Linked DNA regions of Homo sapiens: all the other regions are linked to region 3. The links are contacts of gene promoters, found by promoter capture Hi-C in human tissues and cell types (Jung and others, 2019). All regions are on one chromosome and are shown on one strand. The core of a region is centred on a gene start or on the middle of the fragment in contact, and the rest is flanking DNA. Distances in the headings are between cores, read along the strand shown.

Region 1 (3,943 bases), core at 1,312-3,811, 120 kb before region 3:
CATGCTAACTCAAGCCCAGCAACTGGAGTCTGTCTTGGCCACACCCAGCATGAAACCTGCTTGGAACTCTGCCTCCCCTCAAGTAGCCTCTGGCAGTAGAAAGCGCATGTGTGCTGGAAATCTCCCAGCTGGGTGTGATTCCCAAGCCTATGCCCTGACCTTTACTTTGCCTCTCTGAGCCTCATCAGTCAATGAGGATAATAGCATACTCTTTGCAGGACTCTCATGAGAGCTGAATATCTGGGTGCTCACTCACACTCGGCTCTGGGCAAATCTTCAGTAAATGTCCCTCCTTCCCCTCTGAGAAACATACAGCCACACCTTTGCTCAAGCTGTTTCCTCTACCTGGGCTGCCCTCTTTCCTCTCACTCCCTCATTCACTGTCAAAATTAAACGCATACATCAAGGCCACGTTTAATATGAGCCCTATTTCCAAGGCTGTTCAAAAAAAAAAAGAAAAAGAAAAAAGCAAATTTTTCTTTTAAGCAACTGTCTCACTGAAGACCAAAATGTGAGATGAGTTGGAGGGATCAGCTGTGGTTGTGACTTGGGTGGGCTGGGGCGGCAGTCCCCCTCTTAAACCCCTGAAGTCCATCTGCAGAAAGATCGAGGCTCTGCGGAATATCTTAAAAACAGGGACTGGGTCTGGTTTATTTCTGGGGCCCTGACAGTCCAACTGGCTCAGAGTAGGGGCTCAGAAGTGCTTTGGGAATTAACTGAATTAAACTGAGTCATGTGGAGTTGGGAGGCAGACCCTACCAGACAAGCAGACATACTTTTTTCCCTGATCCCAGCCTCATCCCCGAAACTGGTGTGCACCCAGAGCTTCCCATACCTCCTGGCCAGCAGGGGCCTAGAGGTGGCTGCAGGTGGCAGCCATCAGAGGGACCCTGGCGCCCACTCAGCACTAAGAGGCCAGTTGTCTCAGCACCCCACAGGCCTGGCCTTGGAGTCCCTGGTGCAACTGGGCTCATGGACACCAGACAAGACCAGAGAGGCCTCCTGGAGAAACATGCAAGGATTGGGTTTGGTGGCCTTGTCACTTCCAAGGTGAGACACAAAGGAACACCTTTTCAGTGGGAGAGTATTTATGGAACCAGGTAAGATAGTAATATTTGCTAATACTCATTGAGTACCTACTATGTGCCAGCCACTATTCTAAGCATGTGGTGTATTAATCAGAGTTCTCCAGAGAAACAGAACCAACAGCTCACACACATACGAGGAGATTTATTAGAAGGAATTGGCTCACGTGATTGTGAAGCTGGAGAAGTCCCACAATTCACTGTCTGCAAGCTGGAGACCCAGTAAAGCCCACTGTGGAGATTCCAGTTCAGATCTGAAGGCCTGAGTGCCAGGAACATTGAGGGCAGAAGATCGATGTCCCAGCTCAAGCAGTCACAGGCAGAAAGCAAACTCACTCTCCCTCCATCTTTCTGTTCTATGCAGGCCCTGAACAGAATGGATGGTGTCCACCTGCATTGGGAAGGGCTATCTGTCTTACAACCCATGAGTAGATACTATTAGCAGCCCATCTTAAGATGAGGAAGCTAAGGTACAGACTGGGGAAGTGACTTGTTGAAGGTCACAGCTAGTAAATGGCAGAGCCAGACACAAACCCCAGCAGTCCACCTACAGGGCTACTGCCTCCATCTGCATGTGAATTTAATTCCATGCAGAAAAGGCCTGTGTCATTGAGTTGTTTGGTATATTTATTTCCCAAGCCCCCACCCCTCCATCTCCTTCATTAAGAGCTGGGCTAAAGAGTCCTCTGCTCACCGACCTCTGTGTGGGCTACTGGGTGTGATAGAACCTGGAGGATAGGCTGATGGGGCAGAGGCTGGGACAGAGGAAGGGAGGGTGGGGTGGGCTTCATCCTGCTGGATGGTGGGGAAGGGACGCTATGAGGATGAGAGATGGGCTTAACAAGGGGGGATCGGGCACCAGAGGCCTCACAACTTATTCATGTCAGTGCCATGATTTGCGCCCAGGTTGTTGAGCCTCAGCCTCTGGGCATGACTATTGCACTACAGTGGCCGGGGAGGGACAGGAAGGATGGGTTTCTGTGCCCATTAGGAAATAGACTTTATAGGGTCAGAAATGGGGGCACAAAGGAGAAGAAAAGTTCAGGGAGACTTGCAGGCTTGGGCAAGCAGGCAGGTGGTGGAGTCACACCCTAAGAGGGGGGACCTGGGAGGAGGGACCCTGCCATGCCCTTCAGGATGATGGTGACCATCAGATGAGATGGGGACACTAGGAGGTCTGTGCTGTCATAGCAAAGACATAACAGTTGAAGAGCACTTACAGGTTTTTCCTCATCTCCATTTCCATGTCAAAATTTACCAGTCCTGTGTCCCGTTTCCTCCAGACCATTGCTAATCTGATAAAAAGGCTTCCCTATGGAGGTGGCATTGGAAAAGGCTGGGTTCCCTTCTAACCTTCCCCTCTCTTTTTGCCAGGGTCCTTCCTGAGGCAAATCCTCAGCCGCTGTTGCACGGGGTAAGAGGGAAGGGCAGGGTCAGCCTGGGGAGGATGTGGTGGGATGAGTGCTCAGGGGCTGAGCACAGCACATGTACCAGCCATCTTGGAAGCCACCTCATGTGCCAGACCAGATGGGCCACACCCCTGTCTCCACTGAGAGTGAGCTTGCTGTCTCCAGAGGTAATCGAGCAAGAATAAGACTGACAGTTGGGGAGAAGATAGTAATGCAGATTTAAGCATCAGTGTGTGCACTGGGGAAGTTGCCTGAGGTGACCTGTAACCTTCCATGTCCAGAGTCAAAGATGCTGGGATGCTGAGAATTGGAAACTCCTGGGAGTACCCGCAGGAAAGAGGGTCCATTCGAGGCATCTCCCTGTCTTTCATCTCCAGTTTGTCCACAAGGCCTCACCTCTGGCATGGCCACCCCTCAGACTAGCCAGTCCTTTTTCCATCCAGTACATCTCCATCTCTGTACACCTCATTTCCAGGTGAAGAAGCCAGATCCTCAGAATGTCAGGGCTGGGCAGGACCTCAGAGCTCAGCCAACCAACCTTTGATTTTCAGGGGAGGACCCCGAAAGCCCAAAGTACAAACAGACAATGGCCTGCCTGTGTAGGAAAAGAGAACCTTGGCCCACAATTTCTGCAGCAAGCAGCACATGAAGCCAAACCAAACCTCTGTGGCAATGGGCCCAGAATGGTCAGGGCTCTGTCAATCCTGGTCAGCTTCCCTATTGTTGACTACTGCTTCCAACTCAACACCCATGAAAGAAAGCCAAATATGCTCCTAATGCAATCACATAAGATGTCGGGCTTCCAGCTAGCCACCTCCCGCTTCCCCATGCAACAACCTCCAGTCAGGGCACACCTGAGGCCTCCCCCTTTTCACTATGATGCTTCCCCTCACCCTGCCTGCCTGGGAGTCTCTGTCAAATGCAAGTGACAGTGGCCCATTCCCTTGCCATACCAAGCACACAATAAATGGCCTCTGTTTGATCTCCTTTGGGTGGTCCCAATTTATTTCCACAACACAGAGACCCAGGAAGGGATGGTGGGTTGTTTAAGGTCACATTCCAGGTCTAGGACAGAACTCAGCTCATTCGTTATCACCTCGTTAGAACTTTACTTCTCTGACTCCCTCTATTATTCTAGGTAGAATTGACCACGTTCTCCCTCTTGCCTCTCAGTATCCTTCACACTCTATCTCAGCACCTTCCACACATGCGATGATTTTAAAGTATGTCGAAAGCTCTGTGATACTCATCCCTTTAAGAAGTGGAGCCTAATACTCCTCCCCTTAGTGTGGTCTGGATTTAGTCACTCTTCTAGTGAATAGAATGATATGAAGTGACCATCTGTGACTTCAGAGATGAGGTCATAAGAGGCTCAGCAGCTTCCTCCTTAATCTCTTGGATCAGCTCTAGGGGAAGCCAGCTGCCATGTTGTGGGGATGCTCAAGGAGC
Region 2 (3,935 bases), core at 347-2,846, 86 kb after region 3:
CTGGCCCTCTGCTGCCTCTCTGACAGGACCTCAACCCCTCTGATGTGGTCCTTCCTGGGAGGAGGTCATAGGTGCCCTGGCCTGAGGACCTCCAGAAGCTGCTCCTTCTCTCTGCTTTGGGCCCTCCTCCGTGTTTCAGTCCTTTAAAATCTAAGTAAATATTCATGGCCTTGTGCATCCAGAAGTCGGAGACAGAATATGGCATTCCTCAAACTGTGTCCCATGGCACTCTAATTTGGAGAGCTTTTAAATGGTGGAGGGGGACTCCGATCCAATAGGTTTGGAAATGTTAGTTTCTATATTTCAGTACTTCTCAGATCTTTAATACACCAATATGCATCATATCATTTCGCTCCATATTCCTTCCAACCCTCCACTCAAATAAAGGAGTAGTGTTGTCATGCATTGAATTGTGCCCCATTAAAATCTATATTGAGGTCCTAATCTGCACTGCATCACAATGTGACCTTATTTGGAAATGGGATTGTTGAATATGTAAATTAGTTAAGATGGGGTCATACTTGAGTAGGGTGAGCCCCTAATCCAATATAACGGGTGTCCTTATAAAAAGGGGAGTTTAGACACCTACACACAAACACACAGAAAGCATGCTATGTGAAGATGAAGACAGGGACCTACAAGCCAAGGAACCCCAAAGACCCAGCAAACCACCAGAAGCTAGGAGACAGGTCTGGAACAAATTCTCTCTCCAATCCCTTAAAAGAAACCAACCCTGCCGACACCTTGATCTCAGCCTTCTGGTCTCCAGAACTTCCAGGGAATACATTTCTGTTGGTTGAACCACCCAGACTGTAATACCTTGGTAGTCCTGGGAAGCCAGAACAAGGGCATTCCAGGAAGCAGAGAGAAGGCATGGCGAAGCTCATTGGTGGGAGTGTGCAGAGAGTCGGGGAGGGGAGACAGTCACGTGATGCTGACATGTGAGGCTCTTAGAAAACGGCCATGAAAAACAAGTTTAGAAAAGCACAGGCCAGGCCTTCACACCCTTAGCCCACCAGATGGCCCTAAATGCCAAATTAGGGGATCTGAATTTTATTCCAAATTCAATACAACTTCCGAAGAGGGGATGCTCTATTCACCATGAGCAAAACAGTGCTCCAGACAGATCACCGTGGCAGCAGCCTGCAGATTAGGGTGAAGAAGGAGGCAGGGAATGGAGGCAAGAGCCACTGTGGAGGTTGCCTCAATGGTCCAGAGAAGACCAGGGACAGTTTCTGGGGATGGGGAAGGATTCCACCTGCAGAGACAAATCTTGAGGATCTGAGGATGAGTCTGCTCTTTCAAGTGAGGAAAAGGTCAAAGAAGAGGTAGAGGTTTCTAACCTGGGCAAACTGGGGGACACTGATGTAATGAACAAAACCAAAGACGAAGGAGAGCTTTTTGGGATGGGGGACAGTATGTGAATGACCTCAGAGTTCAAAGTTAGTCATAGCCATAAGCTGCTGGTTTCATTGAATTCATCACATTTTCTTTAAAATGAACTTGGTGAAGTGATAAGCTGCATTTCTCTCCCTGTTTTTGTTCCCAAGGCTAAATCTGGCTGTTGTTTGACTTTTAACATTCTGTTGATGTATATAATTCGCTAATTTGACTTCTATTGACATTTACTCCTAAACATTCCTAAACGTAGTGTTTCTGTTGCAGCTAGCTAACACTTGGTCTCTAACATGAATACTGTGTTTATAAATGGAGTATGGTGTGTATCAGAAAATGTAATGAGACTAAAGCTGAAAATATCAGAAGATGCCACCCTCTCCATGCCTCCCCCTGTCCCCCAACCCTCATAACAAAACGGTGGGATTACAAAGATTGGTACCAGATAAGGCTGTGCCCTCTGACCCTTACTAGGACTGGCTCCTCTAGACATTCTGAATGGAAAAAAAAAATTTATCTAGTCTAACTGTCTCCCCCTATAATTTCTGCACAGCAAAAAGCAAGCCCTGGAGGGTGCTGATGCTACAGACTTTGTTGACCTTTGACTATTTAATACAGAAGTGGGCCCATACGCCTCTTGATATTTGGGAAATACCCAAACTAACCTCCTGTTAAGAATTGTGAGGGACTTGAGAAGAGTAGGGTCAGGGAGTACTGAGTACCCTGTCCCTGGGTGGATACCTTTCCCAGTGCTGCCACTGTGGCTAAGCGTCCATGTGAAGCAAGCAAGGGGAATAGTGATGTTGGTCTAAAAGTGTTTTTATTATTTCCCCATTGATGTAATCTATGACCATGTGATTCTAAAATATACCTGCAAGGGACCTTCAGGTTTGTGATTTGCAAATCACGTGACTAAATGTATCCAGTTAAAGCTCATCATTATTGATGACATTATATAACCCAGCCATCACCCTATTTCAGAAATGTTAATTTGACTTATTGAATAACTTTCATTTTCATTCTCTTTTGCTAGTGGTTCCTACAAATCTGTCAGTAAGAATTAGATGTGATTTATTTTGGGCTCTGCAATGTTATGATGGAGTAAAGTTGGTTGGGCTTTTTTTTCTCCCCCCTCTTCAGAAACAATATCCTGAAAACTGAAGGACATTTAAAAAATAGGTTTTCACAAGAATAAAAGTGATACCCTTCCTCTTATCTTGGTTCATGCTACAGAACAAATGGAAGACTTCCTGCCTGGTTGGACTGTACTCATTTCAATCCTGCTTATTCCAGCCCTCAAAATTAAAATTGGTGATGAAACTTTCTCTTTCAGCCAAGATGGAGTAACAAAGACCAGATTTACCCTCCTGCCTGGGACAACTAAAAATCCAGACAAACTATAAAAAACAATGTTTTTCAGGTATTGAGCATCAAGAAATGCAGGACAGAGATCACTGAGGGAAAGGAAACAAACCAGGTGAGTCCTGCAGGTATTCCAGCTCACTGCCTAGAGAGAGTTTTCAGGCAGTAGCACTGGCAGCAGGAATGCAGGTGGAGCCTGGCAGTCTTCCTGAGTGAGGAGAGGTAGCCAGGAGCCCTGGGAGGTCAAAGTGACTACAGTTTTCAAGGTAGAGTACTGGACAGGAGAGATCTACAGAGAGAGAGACAACTCCAAAGATCTGAAAAGGGATCCCCCTGAGTCTTCAGCTGAGTGCTGACCAGTACATGCAAGTTATAAAAACTACCCAACACTGGAGAAAAAACGACCCGAAAATCTTAGAAGGAAAAAAATCCCCTGGTGATTATATAGGGCCAAGAATATTTTGTGTTCCTATTAGTCAGAGTGGAAAAATCTTATAACTCATAGAACATCATGAGAGTACTGATAAGGATAGTGGTATACAGCAGCAGCAGTGAAGAACTACGTGCCCTACAAAAATTGCTGCTCTGATCAATACCTAACAAAGCTTAAATGTTAGCCTCAGAAGGATAAAGATATTTGTAAGTTATGTAACTATGTCACAGAATACAGCTTAAGAATATTTTATATGAATATAAAAATATCCATCACCCAAGAAAGTCAAATTAACAATGTCAAGAATACAATAAAAAATTACCAGGCATGCTAAGAAACAACAACAACAAAAGAAACACACGAATGAGGAGAAAAATCCATTAACAGAAAATAAAACAAAAATGACACAGATAACAGAACTAACAGACAAGGACATTAAAACAGTTATGATACCTATATTCAATATGGTCAAGAAGGTAGAAGAAAGATTGGGCATGTTGAGTAGAGGCACTGAATAAAATATTTGAAGAAACAATGGCTGATATTTTTCCAAATCTAATGAAAACTATAAATCCAGAGATTCAAGAAGCTCACCAAACCCAAGCACCAGAAATATGAAGAAAACTCTACCAAGGCATAGCATCATCAAATTGCTTAACCATAGTGGCAAAGACAACAGAGGAAAAAAGACATATCACATACAGACAAAAAAGATAAGAATGACAGATTTCTTGTTGGAAACAAT
Region 3 (4,084 bases), core at 1,402-3,901:
ACCTATTGTTCAAAGGATGCAGCCTCACAAGCCTGCTGTGAACCAATTGACAATTACTGGACAATCACACCCCCTCCCCTTTCTCACTATCTCTTTTGCCTAATAAATATGGAGAGCTGTGTAAAACTCAGGGCCCTTGTCCAGTAGAGGCAAGGCGCCCCCTGACCCCTTCTTCCAAATACACTCTTTTATCTCTTGTCTTTTATTCCCACGTTCGCCCCGCTTTGTTCAGTCCCCCTAGGTCCGTGCAGGCTACAAGTGGCACACTGAACAGTGACAGAATCGGGCAATCTACACCAGGTGACCCTCGAGAGGTGCATAGATTAGGTCCACTACAGCAATATTGAAGACCAGATTAGACAATGCAGGTTTTCCAATGCACAAAACTTACCTAAGTTCTCCCAACGTCGTGAGCCTCTAGTTGGGGGTTAGTATTTCTGAACCCCCAGTGAGCCGCTGTGTGATTCTGGCTCAGGCACAAAGGTCTCTGAACTGTTCACACAGGGCAATTACACTTACATCAAAGAGTTGTGAGACCTGAATTAAAATGCGGTGTAAATAACATTTGTAAGTGGCAATGAGCTCCATGTGTAAACATCAGGAGCTGTTGTCAAATGTAAAGATTGTGCTGAGCAAAATACCACGACTTGTTTTAGCCGGACAGGCATTAAAATATCCAGTGTTATTTTGACCTCAGCTGACCAATAGCTGCTCCATTTCTCCAAACTGTAGATGAGTCACCTAGGAAGTCCCTACCCCTTCATCTTCTTGCCATCCTCCCTCCATCCTATCCCACCCCCAGTGAGATATCCTCTTGTTCCCTTTTCTACCCAGCATCCAGAGTTCTGTCTGGCCCCCAGCAGGTGCCCATGGAGGCTACATATGGAATGAAGGAATGAAGGATTGAATAAATGTCTCCATTTCTTTGCACAAAGAGTTACCAATGCTTGAGATGTTCCCCTACTCCCAGGAAGTCACCCTCTCCTGGGAGCCTTTACTCAACCCGCCCTCCATTCCTGTCTTCCCCTTTCTCGGGGCAGCTGTGTGTGACATGCCAGTGCACAGTGGAATGGTTGGTTTTATCCATCTCCCTGACAGGCCCCTGAATTCTTAGGGGGGAAGGAACAAGGTCTCATTCACATTTGTCCCTGCATCTTGCTGGTTGAGGTGCAATCTGCAGCCTCGGGGCGGCGCTCTGGCATGAAGGAGGCCGCTAAGACGTTGTTCTGAAAGCTGGCTTGCAAGGTAGTTTATACTCTGCAAACCAGCGTTTATAGTGTGTGTTTACATGAGTGGCTTAAGGGTGTCCAAATACCGGGAAAAGGTGCTCAGTAAATGTTTCTTCCATGCATGCACTGTAGTATCTGACCCTCAGCTCTGTGTCTTAAGCCCCTGGTTCTCTCATCCAACCTAAAAATAGGATTGTCCAGGCCTTGAGGGCCTTCTGGAAGGCGCCCCCATCAGTCAAAGCGCTTGCAAAGTGCTTCCACCACAAGAGCAGAGAGGCCGCGCCATGCCTGTGATGCTGCTAGGCACAGCTTGTCTGAAAGAGATGCAACCAGGCTACCTCCCGAAGAACCGACTTGTTGATAATCTTGCCTCAAACAGAGGAGTTTGCAGATGGTTGAGGAAGAGCAGTGGTAGAAATGTTCTCCCCAGGGCCGTCACAACTCCTTCCCAGCCGCAGCCTAGTGTTGCAAGAGAGTTTCTGCTGCTGGGACTACAAAGGAGAGGACAAGGCCCATGGCCGGGAGAGGGGCGGCCTGCACCTTTCAGCCCCGGCGCCCGGGAGAGCCTGCGGGGAGTGCGGCGGGGAGAGTCCTCAAGGATGGAGCGCAAAAAAGGGTCTCAAGTCAGTCCTCGCCACCTTTCCGCAGCCTCGGGAGAGGCTTGGGGGAAGCGCAGGCAAGGGCCAAAACCCCATGGAAGTGGGAATCCTCGGCCTCCAGGGTGAATAAATAATTAAGCGCCCAATACACAATAGCCTCGCTAGATGGAGACGAGGAATCACTGCAGCGGCGCTGGCGGCGGCGGCGGGGGGAGCGCAACCCCGGGCGGGAGGCGGGAGAGGCTCTGGCTCGGCTCACGTCTGTTTTCCTTTTTCGTGGATTATTTATTTCGCCTCCACCCACGGCTTTGCTGCCCCAGCGGGAGCTCCCTGCCGGCGCCTCCCGCCGCTGCCTCTCGCGGGCCAGCGTGAGGGTAGTAGAGAGCTCGGGCACCCCAGTGCCCCGGGCAGCCGCGCGGCGCCACCAGGAAAGGCGGGGAGCCAACGCGGGCCCGGGGAGGGCTCGCGCGGCCGGCTCCAGGCGGCGTGGAGGAGACTTTCCCCGCCCTCTGCCTCCGCCTCGGCGGCCAGCCCTGGCCCTGGGAGCGGGGTGCCGCCCCTCCCGCCCCGCGCGCGGCTAGGCGCAGTCCGGAGCCACCGCGCCCTGCGCCCCGTGCGAGGACGCCGCTCCTGGTCCTCTGCTCAGCGGCCCGGGAGGCCCAACCGGCGCGCAAACTTTTGCTCCAGCGCCGGGCGCTCCTCCCCGGCATGTGAAGCCCCCGGGCGCCCGCGCAGCCGCCAAGGTGAGGACGGAGGCCCCGCCTAGAGGGCGGGGGACTGGGGAGGCGGCTGGCTTTAAATGGGGGCTGTCCGGCTGCTGGGAAACAGAGCTGCCGCGGGGGGAACGCGGACCTCTTTTCCCCGAGCCCAGGGTCGGCTGGGGCCGCCGCCAGGCAAGGTAGCGTGAGGCGTTGGAAGGGTGCGGGCGGAGATGGAGGCGTGGGGGAACCCACGCCCGGGAGCGGGAGATCGGGGCTGGGCGGAGGCGTGCAAAGGGGCAGCGCACGGAGGTGCCTATGTTGCAGTGTGCGCAATGAGGCCGGCTGGGCAGTGTGGGTGCAGGCAGCGTGAGATTTCTTGGGGCCGTGCATGCAGGGTCAGCGAGGGTGCAGGCAGGAGTCGGTGGGTGTGCACGGGGATCAGTGTGTGTGCACGGCTGTTTCTGTGGTTGTGCGCGCAGGTGAGTAGTGCCCGCCGGGTTTGAAGTGTGCTCACAGTGAGAGTGAGTTGTATGGGGGTTAATGGGGCGCAGTAAGTGTGCTTGGCTGTTTCTGGAGGTGTCCATGGGGCCAAGGTATGCACGCAGTATTCTGGAGCTGTGCGCGGAGCTAAAGTGTACACGCGGGGCTCTGGGGATGTGCGTAAGAAGAGTGTGAATTCTGGGACTGACGAAGAGTCAGTGAAGGTGTAAGCTGGAGTGTAAGTGCAGGCTTGGTTTACTAGGGTGCCCCTGGGTGCGGGGCGTGCCCGTCCGACCCGGGCTGGGAGGTATATTGGTGCGCGGCGGCGGAAGTGCCTGCGCGGTGTCCGCCTGACCCTAGCCTTGCTCTCCTGACAGTTCGCCCCAGGAGCGGGCGCCGCTGGCCGAGATGCTCCTCCGGGACTTGGTGCTGCGCCGTGGCTGCTGCTGGTCCTCGCTGCTGCTGCACTGCGCGCTCCACCCGCTCTGGGGCTTCGTGCAGGTGAGACGCGCCGGCTGCGCACTGGCTGGGAGGGCCTCCTGGGTAAGGGGCGAGCTGTCCCTTCCCTCCTGAGACCCTGGCCTCTTGCAGCCACCCCACTGATTGGTTCTCGGAAGAGCTTGGGAAAAGAAAAGCTGCTACGGTCCCCTATACCCTACCCCTGAAAAGATAAGAAACTCCAAAGAGAGGCTTCGATTGTGGCCTAAATCCTGCAGGACCGGGCTGGCCTTGGAATGGAAAGGGGCTCAGAGAATACCTTCCAATGATAACATTCTAGGGCAGAAATTCAGCAAAGAAACAAACTTACAAAGAAAAATGATCCCAAGGATATATATTATTTCTTTCTCACCAGAACCACTGATGAACTTCAAATTAGCTTTCTTAAACTGGTTTTCAACACGGAAGGCAGCCGTGTTTCTTATAGGTATCAGAGTTGAGGATGTAGACAGATAATGCATGGTGGCCCATCTGTCAGGACTGCCCAGGGTTGAATCTCTCACCCTGGGTCCCTTAAATCCCAGGGCAGAGGCCAGGCAGCCACTAACTGGAGTTACCTCTTAGGGTCAGAGAGGGG

Evidence for each region. The method cuts DNA at HindIII sites, captures the fragments that hold promoters and counts their contacts. A contact is called where the count stands out against the background at its distance.
Region 1: a fragment that was not itself captured here is called in contact with the fragment with the promoter of PRIMA1 in region 3 in 2 of the 25 tissues and cell types used here (heart left ventricle and pancreas).
Region 2: a contact is called between a fragment that was not itself captured here and the fragment with the promoter of PRIMA1 in region 3, in 6 of the 25 tissues and cell types used here (H1 embryonic stem cells, aorta, dorsolateral prefrontal cortex and 3 more).

Annotation. Positions count from the first base shown.
Region 1 is chr14:93,909,126-93,913,068 of GRCh38, reverse strand. It overlaps FAM181A-AS1 (FAM181A antisense RNA 1), which reads left to right. Exons shown (of 11, transcript NR_027004.2): 7 at 1,450-1,555; 8 at 2,460-2,499; 9 at 3,899-3,943. Among named protein-coding and RNA genes, the nearest start is that of FAM181A-AS1, 15 kb to the left of the region's middle. The HindIII fragment of the contact is 4,934 bases long and covers 95-3,943 here.
Region 2 is chr14:93,700,131-93,704,065 of GRCh38, reverse strand. All of the region lies in intron 50 of UNC79 (unc-79 subunit of NALCN channel complex), which reads right to left. Among named protein-coding and RNA genes, the nearest start is that of PRIMA1, 86 kb to the left of the region's middle. The HindIII fragment of the contact is 4,233 bases long and covers 1-3,712 here.
Region 3 is chr14:93,787,052-93,791,135 of GRCh38, reverse strand. PRIMA1 (proline rich membrane anchor 1) reads left to right here and starts at 2,651. Exons shown (of 5, transcript NM_178013.4): 1 at 2,651-2,726; 2 at 3,387-3,510. The coding sequence starts at 3,418. RefSeq lists enhancers at 1,148-1,859, 1,860-2,573, 2,574-3,285. The HindIII fragment of the contact is 12,037 bases long and covers 1-4,084 here.